Linked DNA regions of Homo sapiens: region 1 is linked to region 2. Evidence: promoter capture Hi-C in human tissues and cell types (Jung and others, 2019). All regions are on one chromosome and are shown on one strand. Each heading gives the region's core, a stretch centred on a gene start or on the middle of the fragment in contact. The rest is flanking DNA. Distances are from core to core; before and after follow the strand shown. Region 1 overlaps WBP1L (WW domain binding protein 1 like). Region 2 holds the start of NT5C2 (5'-nucleotidase, cytosolic II).

Region 1 (5,448 bases), core at 2,143-4,642, 430 kb before region 2:
GTGGCTCTGTCTGCTCTCATACACAGTACTGTGCTGCAGTGAGGGGGATCCTTAACTTCTGTCCCCAACCTCCATTTGGCACTTCCTGTTCTCAGGGGAAGATGGTTTCTGAGCCTTTTTTTTTTTTTTTTTTTTTTTGTTGATACAAGCTCTCCCTGTGTCACCCAGGCTGGAGTGCAGTGGCATGATCATAGTTCATGGCAGCCTGACCTCCTGAGTTCTAGCGATCATCCCACCTTAGCCTCCTTAGTAGCTGGGACTATAGGCGTGCACCATTATGCCCAGCTAATATTTGTATTTTTAGTACAGACTGGGTTTCACTGTGTTGACCAAGCTGGTCTTGAACTCCTGACCTCCAGTGATCCTCCTGCCTCGGCCTCCCAAAGTGCTGGGATTACAGCATGAGCCACTGTACCTGCCCTCCCCCCCCCCCTTTTTTTTTTTTTTTTGAGACAGAGTCTCACTCTGTCACCCAGGCTGAAGTGCAATGGCACGATCTCGGCTCACTGTAACCTCCGCTTCCCAGGTTCAGGCAATTCCCCTGCCTCAGCCTCCTGAGTAGCTGGACTACAGGCGCCCGCTACCACGCCTGGCTAATTTTTGTATTTTTAGTAGAGACGGGGTTTCCCCATGTTGGCCAGACTGGTCTCGAACTCCTGACCTCATGTGATCCACCCGCCTCGGCCTCCCAAAGTACTGGGATTACAGGCGTGAGCCACCATGCACAGCCCTTTTTTTTTTTAGTAACAGTTTTATTAAGATCTAATTCACAGACCATAACATTCACCATTTTCAAGGGTATTAATTAAGTGGTTTTTAATATATCCACAAGGTGAGCCACCATCACCGCTATCTTAATTTTAGACTATTTTCATCACTCCAAAAAGAAGCCTTATAGCCATTAGCATTCATTCCCCTTATTTTCTTCCCTCCAGTCCCTGGCAACCACTCATCTACTTCCTGTTTTTATGGATTTATCTATTCTGGACATTTCATATGAATGGAACCATACACCATGTGGTCTTTTATGACTGGTTTTCTTTACTTAGCATGTTTTCAAGGTTCATCCATGTTGTAGCATGTATCAATACTTCATACCTTTTTATGGTCAATTAATGTAGGTCCAGCCCTATGGGGCTTAGCGGGTGTTCTCCCTGTGTGCGGAGACGAGAGATTGTAATAAATAAAGACACAAGACAAAGAGATAAAGAGAAAGCAGCTGGGCCTGGGGGACCACTACCATCAAGATGCAGAGACCGGTAGTGGCCCCGAGCAGCTGGGCTTGCTGAGATTTATTGCATACAAGACAAGGGGGCAGGGTAAGGAGGGTCAGTCTTCTAAGTGGTTGACAAGGTGAAGCAGGTCACGTGCTTACAGGATAGGGGGCCCTTCCTTTTAGGTAGCCAGAGCAGAGAGAGAAGGCAGCATACGTCAGCGTTTTCTTCTCTGCACTTACAAAGAAAAGATCAAAGACTTTAAGACTTTCACTATTTCTTCTACCGCTATCTACTACGAACTTCAAAGAGGAACCAGGAGTACGGGAGGAGCATGAAAGTGGACAAGGAGCGTGACCACTGAAGCACAGCACCACAGGGAGGGGTTTAGGACTCCGGATGACTGTGGGCAGGCCTGGATAATATCCAGCCTTCCACAAGAAGCTGGTGGAGCAGAGTGTTCCCTGACTCCTCCAAGGAAAGGAGACTCCCTTTCGCGGTCTGCTAAGTAACGGGTGCCTTCCCAGACACTGGCGTTACCGCTTGACCAAGGAGCCCTCAAGCGGCCCTTATGCGGGCATGACAGAAGGCTCACCTCTTGCCTTCTAGGTCACTTCTCACAATGTCCCTTCAGCACCTGACCCTATACCTGCCGGTTATTCCTAGGTTATATTAGTAATGCAACAAAAAGTAACATTAAAAGCTAATGATTAATAATGTTTATAATAATGATTGATAATTGTCCATGATCATCTCTGTATCTAATTTGTATTATGACTATTCTTATTCTGTTTTCTTTATTATACTGAAATAGTTTGTGCCTTCAGTCTCTTGCCTTGGCACCTGGGTACTCTTTGCCTACAAATTAATACTCCATTTTATAGATATACTCCATTTTATTTATTCATCAATTGATGAACATTTGAGCTGTTTCCAGTTTGGGACTATTATGAATAATGCTGCTGTGAACGTTGGTGTACAAGTTTTTTTGTTTGTTTGTTGTAGAGATGGGGGTCTTACTATATTGCCCAGGCTGGGGAGTAAGCTATTCACAGGAAAGATCATAGCTCACTACAGCCTCCAACTCCCAGGCTCAAGCGAATCCTCCTGCCTCAGCCTCCTGAGTAGCTGCAACTACAGGCACATGCCACTCTGCCTGACTTGATGTACAAGTTTTTATGTGGACTTGTTTTTAATTATCTTGGGTATATACCTAGTAGTGGAATTGCTGGGTTATTTGGTAATGCTATGTTTAACTTTTTGAGAGACTTCCAGACTTTTCTGAAGCAGCTGCACCATTTTACACCCCCACCAGCAATGTATGAGAGTTTCAATTTCTCCAACACTTGTTATGGTCTGCCTTTTTAATTACAGCCATGCTAGTGGGTGTGAAGTAGTTTCTCATTGTGATTTTGATTTGCATTTCCCTAATGACTAGTAATATCAAATATTTTTCCTGTTCTTATTGGCCATTTGTGTATCTTCCTTGGAGAAATTTCTATTCAATCCTTTGTCCATTTACCCTTATCTGACTCGGGGGCCAGAGCTCTTCCCAGTGAGTGATGCCCAGGGTGAGATTTTCTTTTAAACTGGGCTCGGTCAGGGCTCTGGCATTTCCAGACCTGGCTATGTTCCTGCCTAGTCTTGTGACCCTGGGCCACTTAACCTCTCTGAGCCTTCCTTGTTTCTTTCTTTCTTTCTTTCTTTCTTTTTTTTTTTTTTTTTGAGGTGGAGTTTTGCTCTTGTAGCCCAGGCTGGAGTGCAATGGCACGATCTTGGCTCAACTCAACCTCCGCCTCCCGGGTTCAAGCGATTCTCCTGCCTCAGCCTTCCGAGTAGCTGGGATTACGGGCATGCACCACCACGCCCTGCTAATTTTGTATTGTTAGTAGAGACGGGGTTTCTCTATGTTGGTCAGGCTAGTCTCGAACTCCTGAGCTCAGGTGATCGCCTGCCTCAGCCTCCAAAAGTGCTGGGATTACAGGCGTGAGCCACCGTGCCTGGCCGAGTCTTCCTTATTTCCATCAGCATTGCCCAGAGACTGCTCTGAGGCCAGCCATTCTGTGATAAGAGGCCCATGTGGTCAGAGAAGGCTCCCCGCTCGTTTGGGGAGTCTTAGTGCATATGCTTACAGTTCAGCTTCTGAACAGTCACACAGTTAGGACATCTATATGAATCTTTTATCCAATATATAAATTGCAAATGTTTTCTCCCGTTCTGTTTTGCCCCCACTTTTTTTTGAGATGGAGTCTCTGTCATCTGGGCTGGAGTGCAGTGGCACAATCTCGGCTCATTGCAACCTCTGCCTCCCGAGTTCAAGTGATTCTCCTTCCTCAGCTTCCTTAGTAGCTGGGAATACAAGTGTGTGCCACCACACCTGGCTAATTTTTTTTTATTTTTTAATTTTTTGTGTTTTTTGGTAGAGACAGGGTTTCACCATGTTGGCCAGGCTGTTTTTTTTTTTTTTTTTCTTTTCTTTTCTTTTTTTTGAGACGGAGTCTCACTCTGCTGCCCAGGCTGGAGTGCAGTGGCGCGATCTTGGCTCACTGCAGCCTCTACCTCCTGGGTTCCAGTGATTCTCCTGCCTCAGCCTCTCAAGTAGCTGGGATTACAGGCACCTACCACCATGCCTGGCTAATTTTTGTATTTTTAGTAGAGATGGGGTTTTCCTGTGTTGATCAGGCTGGTCTGGAACTCCTGACCTCAGGCAATCTGCCTGCCTCGGCCTCCCAAAGTGCTGGGATTACAGGCGTGAGCCACTACACTCAGCCTTAAATTTTTTTATGTTTAATTTTTTCTTTTTTTGAGACGGAGTTTCACTCTTGTTGCCCAGGCTGGAGTGCAATGGTACAATCTTGGCTCATTGCAACCTCCGCCTCCCAGGTTCAAGTGAGTCTCCTGCCTCAGCCTTCTGAGTAGCTGGGATTACAGGCACCTTCCACCATGCCCAGCTAATTTTTTGTATTTTTAGTGGAGACAGGGTTTAACTGTGTTAGCCAGGATGGTCTCAATTTCCTGATCTCGTGATACACCCACCTCGGCCTAATTTTTTGTATTTTTAGTAGAGATGGGGTTTCACCATGTTGGCCAGGCTTGTCTCGAACTCCAGATTTCAGGTGATCCACCCACCTCGGCCTCCGAAAGTGCTGGGATTATAAGTGTGAGCCACTGTGCCAGGCCTTTAATGTTTAATTTTTTAGGGACAGTGTCTTGCTGTTGCCCAGGCTGGAGTGCAGTGGCGTGATCACAGCTCACTGTAGCCTCAAACTCCTGAGCTCAAGCAATCCCCCTACCTTAACCTCTCCAGTAGCTGGGACTGCAAGTGTGTGCCACCACATCTAGCTAATTTTTAAAACAATTTTTTTATAGAGGCGGAGTCTCCCTATGTTGCTTACGTTGGTCTAGAACTCCTGGCCTCAAGCATTCTTCCCACCTCAGCTTCCCAAAGTGCTAAGATTACAGACAGGAGCCGCTACAGCTGGCCATCTTTTAGTGGTCGCACCACTCCAGCCTGGGTGACCCTGTCTCAAAAAATGAAGAAGTAAAAATAAATAAAAAATGAATCTCTGAAAGATAACAATGTTCCTCAACATTAGTCATCCCATAGCATACCCAGAAAACTTGACAATAATCCCTTAATGTTGTAGGATAGGATCTTGCACTTGAGAATTTAAATAAGATCTAAGAATAAAAATATTACTACAAAATTCAGCTAATTATGACAGTTCTTCAGTTTTCTTAAGTAATTAGCCCTCAGGAAGTTCCTCTACTTGAAAAAATGTTACTCCCAACAGTACCCTTAATCCCATGAGAATCAAAAGTGCTCTTCCAATCCCAGCATTCTCAGTCTTACTTGAACAGGTCTAGTAGTGGCGTTTTAACCATAACCTTTCTTCCACCCTGCAAAACTTGGTCTTTCATTTTCTTTGACACACACATCCATTTCCAACCTTTGCTTAGTGGATAAAGTGAAAGATTAACTTACGACGTTTGCCCTCAATTTTTAGTGAAGAGAGAATTTTGGGGAAAATCCTACTCTTATCTGAGATTGCATAAATGTTCAGAGAAACGTGGAAAAATGAAGAGACCCTGCCAGCATATCTTCTCCTCTTCCAGCTCTTCGGGGATGCAAGCTGTTGGTCCCTATCCTGTGTTTGGCTGACTATGCCTACCCTTCCGGTACAGTACTGGGGGTTTCAGGGCAGGTGAGCAAGGCTGCTGAGGGAGAAATGGA
Region 2 (5,828 bases), core at 3,027-5,526:
CGTCTCGGAAAAAAAAAAAGAGTGTGGGATGAAAGAGCCTGCTTGTACTATGTGCTTGGAAAGAGAAGACTGAAATCTGATGCCTGAAATTTAACGGCTTAAAAAAAAAAATCAGTAAGCTTGCTGAGTATTAGCATGTTTTCATTACAGATGCCCAGTGGGATATATATTTTTATAGGCTCATTAGTTTAATGGAGTTTCTTTAATGTTTTATTTTAGGTTCATCTTAAAATACTGTGAAATATTTCAAACACACAGAAAATAATATAATGATCATTTGATATGTCTACTACCCACCTTCTTTATCAAATTTTAACAATTAAAATTAAGGGCCGGGCGTGGTAGCTCACGCCTGTAATCGCAGCACTTTGGGAGGCCAAGGCGGACGGATCATGAGGTAAAGAGATTGAGACCATCCTGGCCAACATGGTGAAACCCCATCTCTACTAAAAATACAAAAATTAGCTGGGCGTGGTGGCACACGCCTTTAGTCCTAGCTACTCGGTAGGCTGAGGCAGGAGAATCGCTTGAACCCAGGAAGCGGAGGCTGCAGTGAGCCGAGATCGCACCACTGCACTACAGCCTGGCGACAGAGCGAGACTCCATCTCAAAAAAAAAAACGAAAAAAAAAACAAAGATTAAGACTGTCATAATTTTTTTAACTTTTTTCTTTTACTGTTTACTGAATTTTTTTTTTTTGAGATGCTCTGTCGCCCAAGCTGGAGTGCAGTGGCACGATATAGGCTCACTGCAACCTCTGCCTCCCAGGTTCAAGCGATTCTCGTGTCTCAGCCTCCTGAGTAGCTGGGACTACAGGTGGGCGCCATCACGCCCAGCTAATTTTTTATATTTTTAGTAGAGACGGGGTTTCACCATGTTGGCCAGGCTGGTCTCGAACTCCTGACCTCAGGTGATCCACCTGCCTCGACCTCCCAAAGTGCTGGGATTACAGGCGTGAGCCACCGCACCTGGCCGGTTTGCCGCATTAATTTTGTGGCTTTCTTTTTTTTTTTTTTTTTTTTTGAGACAGAGTTTCACTCTTGTCACCCAGGCTGGAGTGCGTGGCGCAATCTCAGCTCACTGCAACCTCCGCCTCCTGGGTTCAAGCGATTCTCCTGCCTCAGCCTCCCAAGTAGCTGGGATTACAGGCATGCGCTACCACGCCTGATTAATTTTTGTATTTTTAGTAGAGATGGGGTTTCACCATGTTGGCCAGGCTGGTCTCAAACTCCTGACCTCAGGTGGTCATTCACTCCGCTCTAATTGCAAAGAATCCATGTAGCATACTTGTAAACTGCTTACCAGAATTTCTCTTTCCAGTTTTATCTCAGACTACTGCTCTACCAAACCCTTTTAGTGAGAACAATCTATTAATCATACCCTCAATACATCCACTTCAGCATCTTCTCCCTACTCTGAAGTGTTACTGTTTTTCCTGATCCCACCAAGCTACATTAATATTCCTTCACTCTGAGCAAAAAAAACTAACATTTATAGAGAACTTAATGTGTGCCAGTATCACTTCAACTGAATTATTCTATTTAATCCACATAACTCTGTAAAATTTGTTCTATTTTTCCCTTCTCAAGGTGAGAGAAACTGAGTGAGCTTGTCTAAGGTTAACTGAGTTCCCCGAGGTTGCATGATGTTAAGTAGCAAGCCAGACTACAAAATCCGGGCCCTTAAATAAATGCAATGTCTCCTGGCTGAAAGTATGACTGCCTTTACTGCTCACGTCACTCAACATATGCCTTGTGATAGTTAGTATTTTGTGTTAAATGTCTAAAAACCTCAAAACATTACAACACTTATTCAACAAAAATTTACTAAGAGCCTGTGTGCCAGGCATTGTTGACTACCGGGGCACATTAGAGAGCATCTACTAATGAAGATTAGATGAATTCTCTAAATACATGGACATCCCAGAAATATTGGTAAGAGCAAAATCCCAAATAATATGTACACAGCAAGTGTACTAGATAAAAACCAGTCTATGTAAGTACTTTAAAAGAGCACAGTCATAACATGACAAAGTTGTGGGTTTTTGTTTTTGGGGATTTGTTGTTATTTACTATTTCACTGAATTAAGCTTTTGGTAAGAGAATTAAGCAACAGGGTCGGACGCAGTGGCTCAAGCCTGTAATCCCAGTACTTGGGAGGCCGAGGCGGGCAGATCACCTGAGGTCAGGAGTTCGAGACCAGCCTGACCAACTTGGAGAAACCCCGTCTCTACAAAATTAGCCAGGCGTGGTGGCGCATGCCTGTAATCCCAGCTACTCGGGAGGCCGAGGCAGGAGAACTGCTTGAACCCGGGAGGTGGAGGTTGCAATGAGCCAAGATCATGCCATTGCACTCCAGCCTGGCCAACAAGAGCAAAGCTCCGTCTCAAAAAAAAAAAAAAAAGAGAGAGAGAGGAAATACTTAAAAAAAAAAACCTGTGTTTTATGTACTCCTCTTTCCCCATAAAACAGGAGAAATAGCCTAGAGAAAGATTAATGAGCACCTCTGTGCCTAACATTCTATTGTAATCTGGCTTTCTTTAGGAAGATGTGATGTCTTCTGGTTAAGGGTGGCAGGTACTATAAGGGAATACTATCTATATAAATCTTCTTACAATTACAAACTTCTGAAAACTTGTAGCTGATGGTAAATTTTCATACAATGGCATCAAACCTTTGAACTGAAAGGAATCTTGCATAACATCTCCTTCAGAACCCCCCCCACTCCACCCCGCGCCCCTCCACCTTATTTTACAGATTTGTTGGTTACTAAATCCTAAAACCTTAATTCTGGGTCAATGAGAGTAATGCAGCTACCTATACTGTTGAAATGTAGTGGTTTACACTGCAATGGAAATGCACTTCAGAAATAAGTCTGTGTATGCTAGTATCAACCCTGCATGTGGAGTTTTTATTTTAATTACTAACCAGCTATGTTTTCTTGAACTTAACCTTTTTTGTTCTTTTTTTTTTTTCCACTCTCAGCTCACACCTATTTTTTTTCTCTTTTCGAACTTCACCCTTTCAGGCCTGGATGTCTTCATCTGGATAAATTCTAACCGTTGTTGAAAAGCCATGTGGTAAATATTTTTGAAACCTAAAGCCTTCTCTACGCAATAACACTAAGTTTTCATGGTAAATGACACAGTTTCAATATTCTCCCTTTCACATTATGGTCAGTAGTTTGCATTCGTTGCTTGAAGAGGCGAAATGAATAGTCTACAGACACTGGGAACCAAGTACAGCTCAATCCTGAAGAACTCATCGGCCCCTGGACGGGCGCGCACACACCCCCCTGTAATGGTGACTAGTCATTTCGGGGCGCTGTACTTCAGAGCACGACCCCCCTCAAACATCAAGGCCCTAAAGGTGAAAGCCCAGGAAAACGTCGATTCGGACAGCAGCCTCTACCTGCTGCTTTTAGAAGCTGTGGCCTGCCGGAGTCAAACCCCCAAAACGTTTTTCTTAAACTAAGGGTTCAGGCCTCAGATCGGCATCTCGCCCTCTCCGATTTCAGGAGCCCCGAAAAAAGGAGAAGAATAGGCCGCCACTGAACGGCTCAGCCCCCTGACCAGGAGCTGTCCGGATGTTTTTTGTGGCGGCTTGCAATTCGCTGTGACCTTTCCAGGAAGTGTTGCACACGGGCGTGTGGCAAACGAGCTGGCCGTTTCTCGCGGTCCTGCTAAAACGCTGTCAACCTGGCGCTCCACCAGAGGCCCCTTGGCTTCTCGGGAGGCGACCGAGGAGCTCTGGGGGCGGGGAGGCTTTTACAAGAAGCGAAAAGACGGCCTCAGGGGTGGCCGGGAACAGCCTGGAATCAGCTGGAGGACGTCAGCAGGACTGAGGAAAGGGCTACCACCAGCGTGAGGAAAGGGGGGAAGAGGGCGGAACGCGGCGAACGGCCGCGCTGGGAGGCTGAGGCGGGGTCCCAGCGAGCCGGCGGCTGGGAAACAATGGCGCGAGCGTGACGTGGGCCGGAGGCGTCGCGGCGGCGCGGAGGAAGGGGCTGCCGTGGGGCGGGGGCCGCACCGAGGGAGTTGGGAGGCGTGCGGCGTCCGCGAGCGCGCTGGCGGGGACTCGGCCTAAGGAGAGGGGCCTTGGGGCCATGGTCCCTGGGGGCCGGGGGCGGGGGCAGGCGGCGGCCGCTACCCTGGGGTCGCGTGTTCGGCCGCGCACCTCCCCACCTAGCTCCCCGTTCGCCCGCTCCTTCCCCGCCCGCCCACGGGGCCCGCCGCACTCACCGGCTCCAGCGCACCGCAACAATCCCAGCGCGCAACTGCCGCAGCCGCCTCAACGCGCGCCCTCCCCGCCCCCGCCGCCCGGCACCGCCCCGCGCCGCCCCTCTGCTCGCGCCCGGCCAGGGACCGGCGCGCTGTTCCGTCCCCCAGCTCCGCCGCAGAGTTCGGCGAAGCCGACGCTCCCTGACCGCGCTGCGTCTGTCTGTCCCGCGGGTCTGGAGATCTTCAAACGATGGAACACCGGCTTTGCCCTTCTGAGGGTCTCCATCCCTTGGCATTCTGCCTGCGCCCCTCAGCCTGGCCCTGGGCTAACCTCTCCACTGTGTCTCATTCAGAAGAAGCTTTTCCTTGGGAGGAGAGGGCATCCTTTTTCCCAGTCACAGAATGTTTTGGTCTAATGGACCTCAAGGCCCCTCATGCGTCCACACCCCCATGGCACCCTCGAATCCCCTTGATGGCTAAAAACACCAGCTTTGAAGTTTGTCAGAACGAGTTCCAGTCCCAGTACCACCACTTACAAACTGTAACCTCGGGCGAGGTACCTGACCTCCTATACCTGGTGCCCACATTTGTAGCACCAGGATAGGGAACAACAGTCCCCACATCAAAGGGTGTTGACGGGATGAAATCACACAATATAGGTGAGGCCCTCAGCAGGATCCTGGCACACAGTAAGCACTCAATAAATGTTCACCCCACCACCAGCAACTCAGCAGGAAGACTCCGCAAAAGCAGCTAGCTATTTCCAGAGGACTGAATTCCTTGGTCCGAGCAGCTCTCACCAGTGAGAAAATGTGTCTAAACTTCCACTCTCAGGGCCGAAATTCGATGCCTTGGAGCCACAGAGAACAAACGTCTAATCTCTCCTGGACCTTTGACTTTTCAGATACTTTACTTCTATCACCTCTGCCCAAGGTCTTCTCATTCCACATCAGTGTCTCCCGTTCCTTCCATTGTTCCTCCTCTGCCCTGGTTTTGAGGGTCTTTATCCCTCTCACGCAAATGGTAGATTTGACTGTGATTTCTTTAGAATACATCACCCAAGACTGAACCAAATGTTTGTGGTATCATCAGAGCAAAGCAGGACTATAGCTTCCTCCTTTTGGGACCTATCGCTTTGCACTCCTGCGATAAAGTTCTTGGCACCCATACTGTTGACTCATATTGGGCTTGCAGTCAACCAAAACCTCCGCGTCTTTTTAATAAGTGCTCCGCCAGAGCACTTCTACCCCTTCTTGTGCTTCTCAGCCAACTTCGCTTCAGGTCAGCTAAGGATAGACCTTGGGCCCCTCACCTTCTAAATTTCTCAGGATATATGGAAAAGAGGAATAGGGGTTGGAAGCTGGCATAACACAATCTTTAAACCAAGTGCATTTGAAAAAAGGCCAGGGTGGCGGGGCGTGGTAGCTCACACCTGTAATCCCATCACTTTGGGAAGCCAAGGCAGGTGGATCATTTGAGGTCAGGAGTTCAAGACCAGCCTGACCAACATGGCGAAACCCCATCTCTACTAAAAATACAAAAATTAGCTGGGCATGGTGGCACGCACCTGTAGTCCCAGCTACTCGGGAGGCTGAGGCAGGAGAATCGC

The links. The method cuts DNA at HindIII sites, captures the fragments that hold promoters and counts their contacts. A contact is called where the count stands out against the background at its distance.
Region 1: a fragment that was not itself captured here is called in contact with the fragment with the promoter of NT5C2 in region 2 in 1 of the 25 tissues and cell types used here (hippocampus).

What each region holds. Positions count from the first base shown.
Region 1 is chr10:102,757,455-102,762,902 of GRCh38, forward strand. The region is part of intron 1 of WBP1L (WW domain binding protein 1 like); the gene reads left to right. Among named protein-coding and RNA genes, the nearest start is that of WBP1L, 16 kb to the left of the region's middle. The HindIII fragment of the contact is 5,932 bases long and covers 427-5,448 here.
Region 2 is chr10:103,188,996-103,194,823 of GRCh38, forward strand. NT5C2 (5'-nucleotidase, cytosolic II) reads right to left here and starts at 4,277. Exons shown (of 19, transcript NM_001351169.2): 1 at 4,241-4,277. RefSeq lists enhancers at 3,018-3,706, 3,707-4,393 and a silencer at 4,092-4,371. The HindIII fragment of the contact is 10,406 bases long and covers 1,105-5,828 here.